Linked DNA regions of Homo sapiens: all the other regions are linked to region 3. The links are contacts of gene promoters, found by promoter capture Hi-C in human tissues and cell types (Jung and others, 2019). All regions are on one chromosome and are shown on one strand. Each heading gives the region's core, a stretch centred on a gene start or on the middle of the fragment in contact. The rest is flanking DNA. Distances are from core to core; before and after follow the strand shown.

The links. Contacts are between HindIII fragments. The study calls those that stand out against the background at their distance.
Region 1: a contact is called between a fragment that was not itself captured here and the fragment with the promoter of FAM83D in region 3, in 5 of the 25 tissues and cell types used here (adrenal gland, lymphoblastoid cells, neural progenitor cells and 2 more).
Region 2: a contact is called between a fragment that was not itself captured here and the fragment with the promoter of FAM83D in region 3, in 3 of the 25 tissues and cell types used here (bladder, lymphoblastoid cells and stomach).

The regions. Positions count from the first base shown.
Region 1 is chr20:39,025,968-39,030,330 of GRCh38, reverse strand. DHX35 (DEAH-box helicase 35) reads right to left here. Exons shown (of 22, transcript NM_021931.4): 19 at 1,832-1,913. Among named protein-coding and RNA genes, the nearest start is that of DHX35, 66 kb to the right of the region's middle. The HindIII fragment of the contact is 7,874 bases long and covers 1-4,363 here.
Region 2 is chr20:39,008,789-39,013,146 of GRCh38, reverse strand. It overlaps DHX35 (DEAH-box helicase 35), which reads right to left. Exons shown (of 22, transcript NM_021931.4): 13 at 2,743-2,867. Among named protein-coding and RNA genes, the nearest start is that of DHX35, 49 kb to the right of the region's middle. The HindIII fragment of the contact is 3,437 bases long and covers 484-3,920 here.
Region 3 is chr20:38,924,108-38,928,650 of GRCh38, reverse strand. It overlaps FAM83D (family with sequence similarity 83 member D), which reads right to left and starts at 2,234. Exons shown (of 4, transcript NM_030919.3): 1 at 1,726-2,234. The coding sequence starts at 2,208. RefSeq lists enhancers at 572-661, 2,047-2,146 and a silencer at 2,257-2,616. The HindIII fragment of the contact is 31,187 bases long and covers 1-4,543 here.

The DNA of each region.
Region 1 (4,363 bases), core at 197-2,696, 100 kb before region 3:
TAAAGATAATGACTATAGGGGGACGTAACGATAATGAAAAAAGAAAGCTCACAGCCAGGCATGGTGGCTCATGCCTGTAATCCCAGCACTTTGGGAGGCCAAGGCGAGCAGATCACTTGAGGTCGGGAGTTCAAGACCAGCCTGGCCAACATGGAGAAACCCTGTCTCTACTAAAAATACAAAATTAGTTGGGTGTGGTGTCACATGCCTGTAATCCCAGCTACTCCGGAGGCTGAGGCAGGAGAATCGCTTGAAACTGGGAGGCAAAGGTTGCGATGAGCCAAGATCACCCCATTGCACTCTAGCATGGGCAACAAGAGCGAAACTCCATCTCAAAAAAAAAAAAAAAAGCTCAATACTGGACTATTAATTTCTCTGAAATAGTACTTCCAATTCCAACTCAGTAGAATGATCTGTTTCTTGGGGGAAGTGCTTCAAGTGCTGTGACGGAATGCCTCGTCGGCATTGTAATAAAGCCAGCGTCCTGGGGTCCTGGGCTGTCCTACCAGGGGGTGGTGAGCTGATCAACACTAAATGTTGTCTCAAAGGAATGATTAGCCTGGAACCTCTTAGGTAGCCCACATTGTTGCTAAGGACACTGATAAAAGAATTTTCCAAACGCTAGTCAAAATTGCTAACTCTCCAGGAGAGTAGGAGCAATCAAGATGACAAGCTGGCAGCACTCCTTAGGGAAGATCTCGGGCCACCGTGGGGGTCGCCTCCACATGGACAAGTTGCCTCAAATACAGACAACTCAGGGTGGGGAGGTGAGCTCATACAATGGGCAAATGAATCACAATACTGACAGGCTACAACATGCCTGGAGTAACAAAGAGAACATACTAGAGATCATTGTAAAGTGCTATCCTGCAGTTCCAACAGTCGGCTACTAGGATACTAGATGGAGCAGATCTGGCTGTCAAAATTAAAAAAGGCTCAGTGCAACTCTGGACTCATTAACAGGAGCCCAGGACAAGGGATATCTTGGCTGACCTCAAGATAACAGGGCAGTAATATTTTCTCTGGGAAAAAAAATTAATGACAAAATAATACATAGAAGAGCTGGGGAGAAATTCTTTGGAGTGTTCTCTTATTAAAGAACAGAAAATGATGATAGCTACACTTTTAGGAGGCTACACTGAGGTTATGAAACTAAAATGAGCCAAAGACAGAAAAGACAGAATAAAAGTAACAATTCAAAGCACTGGAATGATTAGTTTGGAGAATCATGATACTGACAGGCTACAGTATGCCTAAGCTATGCTTAGTTTTCACTGCATTTGAATATAGTAAAGACCATTAGGAAGGCATCAATGAGTGATTTCCTATGCCTAGAAAATGGAACTGGAAGAATCAGGTTATGTAGCAGGAGGCACATCCAGCACATGAGAAACACCTGGCTACCTCCAAAGACACCAGACGTGGCCACACTATACCAGGGTGGGAGGGGACTTCAGTCGTGCAGATCTCTAAAGACATAATAAACTAGCCAATTGTAAAATAACTTCTCTGAGAAACATTATTTTTAATAGTTTCTTCAGGTCATATTATTCTGTCATTAGAATTGAAATATTACCAGCCTCAAGATGTATAATTGTCATCCTTCTAAAACATACAACATATAGATGAGCTGAATATGTGAGAATCATTTTTAGAAAGTCAAGATATTTTGCTTAAAGCTATGTCGCTAACCTCAACTCAGTTTTGGAAGGAGACATGGTAGAAATTACAAATAATTATGCAATTACTATCTCTGCACAGCTTTCTGTGGGGTTTGGGTCATTTGTAAGATTGTTCCTTTAACAAATGACTTCACCAAGTATCATGTTACCTATAAGCTCCAGTAGAATGAAACCTCGCTGCATTGGCGAAGAAGCCGGAGACAATGCACCTCAGAACCAGATCCGGGTCACCTACATAGGCAGCCAACAGAGAGGCGGGTGAAACCCTTGCCTGCCCTAGGCTCCGTGTGCTCTAATGCACAGGATCCACTCCCAGCACCACCCCAGGCTGCTTCAAGACACCTGGAAACCCTCTCCTGAAATGGCTCCAGCCCTACCCTTCCCAATGCTGGATGCCTGCCCCAGCACCATCTAAGGAGGTCCCACTCCCCACAACTGCTGCTGACAACAATGCTGGTCTGCTCCTTGAACCTGGGACCCCTCCAACCTCCCCTAAGCCACAGATGACTGGACCATGGCTGGGCACCAGAACCTAAGAGTGCTGCTCTGCAGGCTGGTCAGTGACCTCAGAACTCCTTTGTAAAAGAGTGTCATATGGCAACAATGTTCTTTCTATAAAACACAAACTGGAGATAGTATACAACGTTACTTCTGTGGTTATGAGCTAGTGTTTGAAAATTGAAGTAATTCTTCAAATTTTTCAAATGTTCCATTTTAACTGGTGTTTCTATTGCTACAGCTAACATCTTCCATGAATAAAGCTTCCCCACTATTAGATGATGTCCATAGGATACATTCCAAATTGTTGTGCAAAAGGCTAATGTTATTTTTATGGTTAATGACATATCACATCTCATCAATTTTAAGACTCGCTCTTTTTCTAACTTTAATTCACTGAAATTAGGACAGCATTTTACAATGATAACTGGCAGCATTTTTTTTCTTTGGTGACACATAAAATAACGATGTTTCTTACACATGATGGTATCTTAGATCCAATGGAATAAAGCATGTTGGTAAGTAAGTTCCATAAAGGTGGTACTATTTCCAAAGCCATCAACAATATATAAAAATGGCAGTTTCACTGCATTCTTACTAGCAATGTTTTGGCAAAAAGTGTTACCTTCTGTTACCTTCTTTTATATTACATTTATTTGATTACTATCGGCATATTTCTTCTTTTGTGAATTTTTTGTTCTAATCCTTAGCCCATTTATCAACCTGAAAACTGTTTTTTCCTAAATATATTAAATAAAATCATTCTATAATAAAGTTTTTAATCTTTATCATTTATCTCATGACTGCTGAAAGTATCTTTCACTAATTGCTTTCTATTTTTTAACCCTTAGATGTTTTAAATTTGCATGTAATTTATTTAGTCTCCATGATTTTCTGTATTTTTCCTAAGCACTGAGCTGATAAAATCTCAAATCTACATGTCTAAATATGATCTAATCCGATATCCAGTCTCTTCTCTCCTATTGTCCATAAGAAATTTCCATGTAAAATATGCACTCTAAACAGGGGTGATATCACTTCCAAAGGGGTGGAAACTGGTTCTTGGAGGCAGGGGGAGGGGAGCATCTTAGACACTACAATGGCCGGTAGCCCTCCAAAGCTCAATCCTACCCTACAAAATCTTATTCCTTAGTATTTAATTTCTCAGGCTGGGTAGAATTTAAATTTAACTTTTCTCCTGGGCAGGGGTCTGATAATGAAACACAGGTGAAGAACACCAATTGCTGAAGTAAGGCTGTCATCTACCTGCTGGGTGACAGGCGTTTGACGAGCTGCTCTCCAACTAGGTGCTCCTTGTAAGCATCCTGTTTCTATCAATGACTCCAACATGGCTCAATGGCCCAGGTTTCAACTCTTCCCTCTCTCGTGAGTGTATTCACCCATCAAATATTCTCTGAGCGTCTCATATACTCCTCACTCCAAGCACTTGTCTCCAGTCCTCCTTCCCTAGAGTGCTCTTTGCCACCATTTTCTAATTCAACCAGACCCCAAAGCTTGACCGGACTCCCACCACACCTCAAGGAAGCTGAAAGACTTCCCAAGCTAGCCCTCTCTGGATTCCTTCTTCCCGGCATTCCTTCCACATCTGCCAGCACGTCTTCTATGATTACTAAAGTATCTACTACTTTAACTTCGAAGAGGACTGATAATCTTAGTACTTTGTCTATCCATATGAATCTCTCCCTTCATTACACTGTTCCCTTAGAGTAAAAGCCAAGACTCCGTCATTGTTTAATCACTTGCTCTTAGTATAAAGACAAAAGAAGACTTAAATGGAACCGCCTGGGCTCAGGTTCTGACTCCATCATACCCTCACTGTGTAACTTCAGCAAGTTACATTTTACCTCTTAGCCACGCTTTTCTCACCTATAAGATGGGGAAAAGAGCACACGTTTCACAGCGTTGTTGTGAGCATTAAATTAATAAACACATGGAACACTCAGTGCACTGTCTAGCCACTTATAAGCACTCAGGAAATGTTACCAAGTACTAATGGTGCTGAGGATGTGGCTGAGTACCTGGCACACTAGGCTTTCAGGCTGACTGCTGAGGCGGGTGTGTCACTTCCTTAAAAGCGTAGACTTCTGAGCCACATACAGATCTGGCTCTCCTCCTTACCAGTTGCGTGGTCCTGAATTTAATCTACCTTCTCCCTAGGATCT
Region 2 (4,358 bases), core at 953-3,452, 85 kb before region 3:
TTTGTATTTTTTTTTTCATTTTTCAACTGTCCAAAAGTTTTACGATAATTTTCATTATTTATATTTTTAAATGTAATATAAATGCTATAAGCATTATCACATATGTAAGCTTTTTTTCTTCTTCTGAATTATTTTTTCAGGAGAAATTTTTATGAGAAGAAATAGCAGACATTTCTACGGCTCATTAAATGTTGTCAGAAAGTCCTCCATGGGGACAGAAACGGTATAACATGGGAGGAATTTACTTTCCCAAATTGTGGCAGTTTTCGATTTCACCATTTTTGTTTATACTCAATCATTTAATTAGTGTAAAGTCAACTGCGCACAGTGGCTCACACCTGTAATCCCAGCACTTTGGGAGGCCAAGGTGGGCAGATCACCTGAGGTCAGGCGTTCAAGACCATCCTGGCCAACATGGCAAAACCCCGTCTCTACTAAAAATACAAAAAATTAACCGAGCATGGTGGCTCTTTCCTGTAGTCCCAGCTACTTGGGAGGCTGAGATACGAGAATCACTTGAACCCAAGAGGCAGAGGTTGCAATGAGCTGAGATCGCACAACTGCACTCCAGCCTGGGTGACAGAGAGAGACTCTGTCTCAAAAAAAAAAAAAATTAGTGTAAAGTCATCCTTTATAGCTATATCAACGTGCAGTCACCTCTCTCCTAGAGAAGCTCAACATGTCCTAATGATAGTTGAAATTTGAATTTGTGCTGTTTTTTTCCTTTAGCTTTATTTAGTGAATATTTACTGTAAATGATGTGCATATAAAAACTCTTCATATTTTTTGAGATACTGATCTGTCATTTCTGTCACTGTATGTTTTTCTTTAATTTTACATGCGGGGCTTTTCATAAGCTTTCAAATCAGCACATACTGTTTATCTTTTCTTTTTTTTTAAGAAAGAGTCTCACCCTATTGCCCAGGCTGGAGTGCAGTGGCACAATCTCAGCTCACTGCAACCTCCACCTCCCGGGTTCAAGCGTTTCTCCTGCCTCAAGCCTCCCAAGTAGCTGGGACTACAGGCGCATGCCACCATGCCTGGCTAATTTTTGTATTTTTAGTAGAGACGGGGTTTCACCATGTTGGCCAGGCTGGTCTTGAAGTCCGGACCTCAAGTGATCCACCTGCCTCGGCCTCCCAAAGTGCTGGGATTACAGGCATAAGCCACCACGCTCAGCCTGTTTATCTTTTCTTTATAATATCTTCTACTCTACACCAATAATCAAAGGGTCCATTTTCCCTATACTTATGGTAAGTACACAATTTTCTTTGGGGGAGTTGATATTTGTATGTTCTATTCTTTCATTCACCTAGTTTACCATCACATATGACATTAGGGACTTTACTATCCAAGAATCCAGACTTTCCAGACTTGTCATATCATATACAGTTGGGAAAAAACAAAGTTCTCAAATCATAAAAATTCTAGAAGAAAATATGAGAGAATATGTATTAACTGACCCAAATATAAGAAGTACTTCATAAGGGCAAGAATAACCAAAGAGGCCGGGGGTGGTGGCTCACGCCTATAATCCTAGCACTTCGGGAGGCCCAGACGGGGTGGATCACCTGACCTGCTCAGGAGTTTGAGACCAGCCTGGTCAACAAGGCAAAACCTTGTCTCTACTAAAAATATAAAAAATTAGCCAGGCGTGGTGGCACACACCTGTAATCCCAGCCACTCAAGAGGCTGAAGCACAAGAATCACTTGAGCCTGGGAGGCAGAGGTTGCAGTGAGCCAAGATGGCACCACTGCACTCCAGCCTGGGCTACAGAGTGAGACTGTCTCAGAAAATAAAGAAAGAAAAAAAGAATAGCCAAAGAAATCATAAAGGCAAAAATAGATTACTGTGAATATGTTTAGAATGTCCACACATTAAAAAAAAAACAGTAAAATATAAATAGAAAATATTTGTAAGAAATATTATAAAAATTAATGTCTTTAATATTCAAAGGACTCTTGAAAATCACTAACTGACACAAATTCTAACAGATAAATAGCTTAACAACTCAGAAGAAATAAAAACTGACTAATAAATGTTTTTATAAAAATCTATCTTATGAAAAATTTAAAAATAATTATAATAAAGGTGATTTCCTCTCTCTGGCCAATCAAATCAGCAAACCCAAAGAAGATAACATGGCACAATGGAAGTACCACAAGGTGGGCATTCAGGCACTGCTAGAGTTGACATTGGTAAAGCAATCTGGCCATGTAACAGGACCCTAAACAGGACAACGGCCCTTTGACCCAGTCATTCTACTCCTAGAAATCATCTCAGGAAGCAATCAGGCACAAGGGTCTTCCTGCAGCTCTATCTAAAGCTGCAGGAAGGATCCCCCAATCATGGTACTCCTGCATCTAGGCCTCTACAAAGACTAGCTGTCCTGGAACTCTCCACTCCTAACCTGGTGAGATTCTATTTGGGTTTCAGGTTTCACCTGGGAGGCCCTTCCTTTGTCTCTCAGAGCCCTGGGCACACTGCTCTGTAATTACCCACTTACTTGTCTCTATTCCCCAGCAGACAAGAACAGGAACTATGTAAGAATAGGAATTGAGGCTACCTTGTCTGGCTGTTTTCCCCTACGTCCTGCACAGGGCCTGGTTGCAAAGCAGACACACAACACATGACCTGAGTAGGGAAAAAAAGGAAAGATGGCATGCCCTACGACAATGTCCTGACATCCCCCTGTGAGCTCCCTAGCCTCCCTATGGCCCCAGACAGCAGGCAGGACTTACCGACATGAAGTGGAACCTGAGGACATTGTCAATTCCTAGTGCTTTCAGCTGCAGGATGACAGGTGCCAAATTACTACGCTGCATCTCAGGAACCGTAGACTGAGGCAACTTGTCAAAGGCTTCCTCTGAGGATAGGAAATCAGAACTGTTTGGGACCAAATGTCACAATCAAATGCAATCACTATGCCAAGGGACAAATTTTCTTCTCTATCTTGAACAAGGGTCTCTAGGATTCTAGAAGCAGATGCACATGATACCATGATATAAAGTTATTTTTATACTTAGGAAAGACCATTCTATTTTTAAAATGCCTTAGATAAATATATTTGAATACACCTTTATAAAACTTTATCTAAAATTCTGTTTTTTAATGTTTTTTGTCAGCAAAACATTAAATCAAACCAACAAGTACTTGCTGAATCACTATCAGTTCCCAGTTGCCACCATCTCTGTTTGGAATAAGTCAAGGAAGCAAGAGCTTCACATACAAGCAAAGAACAATTTCAAGATAAATCACCAAAATACAACAAATGACCAAATCTTATAAAGAGCAAAAATTGTCCAAATCAAATTTTTAAATCAACAAGCCAGGTACACAATATCATTCCCAGAATCCAATGCTGCCCCAAACCAAGAAATGAATGTTTACATGCCCTACCAGGAAGAAGAGGTGACCTTACACAGGAAAAAGCATCCTAAGACACAGAGATCCCAAGACAGGAAGGGCAGAAAGGGAGGGGGAAGGAGAAGAGACTTTGGAAGAAGGCCTTTTTATAAAAGCTAGGCAGGAAGGGTGGGGAAAAAAGAGGAAGAGATTAACTCATTTTCATGTATATTCAGAAAGCTTAAGGATTATATAGAGAATGCTCCACCCACCAAAACCTCCCACATCAGTCAACATTGTAACTGATGTACACCCTTCTTAAACAATACAAGGGTGACCCAACTTCCATTTAGATCATAAAGCTTTAGTTAACTAGAGGAAAAAAAAAAAAGTGCCATGAAGAAATACCACTATCCCCGAAAAACTTCAGAAAGGTTTTCTTTGAGAAAACAGACAACCAATATTCTGTGGACTAATTGATACAAATTGGGTCTAACTAGAAGGTTCTGGATGACGGCCAACAGCAGGAAGTTCCAAATGAGCTACTTCCTTTAGTTTCAAGAGAATTTGGGGTACAGCTTCTTGATAGGATAACCCCATTTTCCAAGCACACTACTAACCAAAGGAGAAACAAAGTTAACACATAAGAGGACCACCCTGCTGAAAAGCTCACAGGAAGTGGGTGTTTCCTAAAAGTTCAATGACAGGCAAGCTCTCCTGAGGACTCAAGTGTGTGAAGCATGGGGCCAGAAGCTGTAGGAGTCACAGCCAATCCCCTTGAAAAGCTTCAGTGATATGCAGGGGCCTGGGACCTGGACCAGAAACAGTTGACCCTCAAGGAGAAATAGGAAAAGTCCCAAGGAGTGGTCCTCCCAAAGAGAAATGGAGGCTCAGGGAAGGAGGAAGCAGGGTGGCTGGAAGAAGGCCTCCAGGGAAGCTGCATGTTGCCATTTGAGGGAGGATTTGAAGGACAAGGAGGATCTGTTGGGCAAAGAGGAAACAGCTCAAGGAA
Region 3 (4,543 bases), core at 985-3,484:
TATCACTAAAATTTGGGGCTGGGCAAAAGACTAGAACAATCCACAGCTCTCACTATACAGACCAGTTCTTTACATTTTTCAGGTTCCAAGTGCTCAAGTTCTACTGGACATGAGCTTTGGGGATGCATACCTACACAAGTCTGCCTTTTCCATCTTTTTAATCTTTTCACTGAACCCGCAAGGAAAATGTCTGCTGCATCAAAAAACCCTCAGTCCACCCAAAGCACCTCAGGGCTGGTAAGAGCCTAGCTGCAGCCCACAACCACTCCCTCAAAGGCAAGGCACTAGGTCACTGTATCCACTACCACTGAAACCCCACCAGTCAGGGAAAGAACATTAAGAACATTGGTGAGAGTCGGGGCTTGGACATGTCAACCTGACAATGCACTGGTATCTTCACCCACACTCAGACACACTCAGGTACCAGCCCTAACAAGTCTTAACATGGCTGGGGCTTTATCTGCCATGTCCCTGGCACAGGCAGATAGCCAGGGAGCTGGGCACTGCCAGTCAGCAAGCAACCTGACCATGGCTCCAGACCAAGGTGTCTGCCACGACACTCTATGTGCCACACCCACCTGCAGGCTGCCTTCTTCCTCCTTGATCCCCAGCACCCTGCTGCAGCTTTATCGAGGCTGGCAAGCAGACAAGACCTCCATTGCACCCATGACCATGCCATACTAAGAGTCAGACAGTAGGACCAAAACCCACTATGAATACAGAAGCCGATCTAATGCAAATGTATCTGCATTTTAGGAGACCACTGCAATCTGGCACAGACCCAGCCTATGGAAAACAAACCCCTTGCCCCAGTTTCCCCTCCAGTCTCTGGCAGTAGAAAAAGCGGCAGGGGGCCGGGTGCGGTGGCTCACGCCTGTAATCCTAGCACTTTGGGAGGCCGAGGCGGGTGGATCACCTGAGGTCAGGAGTTCGAGACCAGCTTGGCCAACATGGAGAAACCCCGTCTCTACTAAAAATACAAAAATTAGCCGGGCGTGGTGGCGGGCACCGGTAATCCCAGCTACTTGGGAGGCTGAGGCAGGAGAGTCACTTGAACCCGGGGGACGGAGGTTGCAGTGAACTGAGATCCCACCACTTCACTCCAGCCTGGGCAAAAGAGAATCTGTCTCAAAAAAAAAAAAAAAAAAAAAAGACAAGAAAGAAAAAGCGGCAGGGCTCTCACTTTGCCACTCTCGTGTTTATCTGCTTTTTACAGCAAAAGATGCATGAAAGTAATTAGCAATAATAATTGCTTCCTAATGCCCCGTAGTTGTCTCTGGAGACCATCTTTCTGGAACTTTCCCTGCGTAAGTTCTTTGGTAATGAGTCTCCTAAGAAGCTCCTGAAAGTGGGATCTAGCGTTGGCTGACAGACAGGGAAATAGGCAATTTTCCAAGTTTGATTTTAACTGAAATTTGGAACTCAGAGTACTTCTGGTCCCTCCTTCAGGGATATGAACGTTAGGAGATGGAACCCGGGCACAATTCGCATCCTTGGGAACCGAGGCTTTCCCACTATCCCCTGCCACGAGGAGCGGCCCGGGGGATCCGGGGGAGACACGCAGAGTGGGGTGTGAGTCGGAGACCCTGGGACCACCTAGCCCGCGCGCGCTTCCGGTAGGGCGCAGAGGAGGTAGTGGCCCCGGCCCGTACTCCCAGCAGGCCTCAATTTCCCATTCTTGAAGGGGGTCTCCCGTGCGACCCAGGGCCCTGGAGGGCCGCTCACCTCTCGCGCCGAGCGGAGCTGCTGGCGCAGAGCGTCCTTGCAGCCGTAGGGGCCACCTTCGCCAGCGCCGCGGGGCTGGAAGTGCGTCTCGACACGCGTGGCGCCGCGGTAGGCGCCCTGGTAGAAGGCGGGCCAGCCAAGCTCCAACAGCGGTGGCTCCAGGTCCGACTGCTCGGGGAAGTAGGTGCCCGAAGAGCAGTCGTGCGAGGAGCCGAACGAGTCCTCGGCCGCCGCCGCCGCCGCCGCGCCCTCCTCTCCCGGCCTCTCCGCCGCGCGCAGAATGGCGTGCACCTCATCGGGGTTCAGGAAACGAGCCAGGCGCTCGCGTCGCAGGAAGGCCGCGAAGGCTTCGGGGCCGCCCGCCACCAGCTCCTCCAGAGCCAGGCGCCGTGACTCGCTGAACAGCTCGGTCGGGTTGGGCGGCCCGCACGGCGACAGGCAGGCGGCGGGCACCTCGTCCAGGCCCTCGGACAGCAGAGCCATGGCGGCGCTCGGACTCGACAGCCCTCGGACAAAAACCGGCGTGCAGTCCCGCTTTATAGGCAACCTTTGAATCAAACAGGCCCGCGCCATTGGCCGCACCTCCCCGCCTCGGCTCTCCCATTGGCTGCTTTCCTTCCAATAGCGGAGCGAGGCGGGGCGCAAGCCTCTACGGCTCCGCCCCCTGATGCGTTATTGGCTGCGATGCTGGGCTTGCTAAGAGGAATTTAAACTTGCAGGGGCGAGGCGGGCCGCAGAGCAGGGACAGAGCGGGGAGAGCCGAGCTCCTGGCCATCCCAGCGCGCCCCCTGCCGGTCGCCCCGCTGCGCGGCCGTGCAAGGCCAGGGACAGTCAGGCCTAGACAACGAGGAGAGGCAGGTGCCGACTCCCGGAGACTCTGGCCACGCTGCTCCTAGGCTCTCAGTGCTTTGGCATGGCCAACCATATCGCCTTTATCACCTGCCTTTAACCATGTATTCATTCATTCAAAGAATACCGGCTCATCGTATTAGGACTGCTCCTTTGATTACACCCTCGGGTAGTCTTCTCTCATTTCATCGATTTTTGCCTTGTAAAACCCCAACCAACCGTGGTTATACCCTACTTTCCACCTGCACCCCGGCAGCCCTACAGGGCTGAAGAAAAAACAAAAAGAGCGTAACCATGCTTACTGACTGGTCATGTTTTAAATTCATAATCCGTAAGACTGCCTGCTAGGAGGCCGGGCGCGGTGGCTCACGCCTGTAATCCCAGCACTTTAGGAGGCCGAGGAGGGCGGATCACCTAAGGTCAGGCGTTTGAGACTAGCCTGACCAACACGGTGAAACCCCGTCTCTACTAAAAATACAAAAATTAGCCAGGTGTCTTGGTGTACGCCTGTAATCCCAGATACTCGGGAGGCTGAGGCAGGAGAATCACTTGAACGCGGGAGGCGGATGTTGCAGTGAGTCGAGATAGCACCACTGCACTCCAGCCTGGGCGACAAGATCGAAACTCCATCTAAAAACAAAACAAAACAAAACAAAAGCAAACAAACAAAAAAACTGCCTGGTAGGCCGCATTTCCCTCATTCTCTCTACCTTTTCCTCTCTGACAGCTTGTCTTCCATGTCAGCAAGAACACAGAAACAGTAAGAAGGGAACGTCCACGTGCGGCCATCTAGTCTACCTTCCTGTCTGCATCTCTGCCCGTATACTGGGCATTGATGAACTGTGCCTGTGCCCATCCAACCCCAACCCCTCTGCCTGGGCATTTCCAGCCCCTCTACTACTCACCAGCATCGCTCCAGCAATCTTCTTCTTTCTCCTGGAACATCAGCTTCCCTCTTTACCGATTCATTTCTATCAGCCTACAAGCATGCTGAAATATTTTTCATCTTAAAACAACCCTCTCTTGACCCTACATTCCTCTAAAGCTCCCCATCTCACTTCTTATTTTTGCAGCATAGAATCTCAGATGTGGCTGGCCATGGTGACTTACACCTGTAATCCCAGCACTGTGGGAGGCCAAGGGAAGAGGATCACTTGAGCCCAGGAGTTTGAGACCAGCCTGGGCAGCATAGTGAGACCCTGTCTTTACAAAAAAATACAAAAGTTAGCTGGGCATGGTGGTGCGCCTAACTTTTAGTGCATGGCAGTGCTCATGATGGTCCCAGCCAGTGGGAAGGCTGAGGCAAGAGATCACTTGAGCCCAGGAGTTTGCAGCTGTAGTGAACTATGATCACACCACTGCACCCCAGCCTGGGTGACAGAGTAAGACCCTGTCTCAGAAAAAGAAAGAAAGAAAAGAAAAGAAAAGAAACCCTCAAACCAGTTGTCTATACTTGCTGTCTCCAGTTCCCTTCCAGCCCTCTTCAATCAGGCTAAAACCCCCACTGCTTTACCAAAACCTCTTGTCAGGTTCATCATGAGTTCCACAGAGCTAAATCCAACAGTCAATTTTCAGTCGTCATCTTTTTTATGTAAATGAAAAGTGGGTCATAAATGTGAGATGTTACCATTATTATTTAGCAACCAATAACCTTTTTAAATGGATGAATGCCTGCCGCTGTTGAGACGCCTCTCCCTCTCTACCTCTCCTCTCCCCATCCCCATCCCTTTGTGAAGTTTCTCAAGAATAAGTGTGGGGACTTCCATGTGTCCCTGCGCTGGTATCCAGGGTCCGGGAGGCTGCAAGAGAGCACCTTCTTTTTTTTTTTTTTTTTTTTTTTTTTGAGACGGAGTCTTGCCCTGTCACCCAGGCTGGAGTGCAATGGCGTGATCTCGGCTCACTGCAACCTCCGCCTCCAGGGTTCAAACGATTATCCTGCCTCAGCCTCCTGAGTAGCTGGGATTACAGG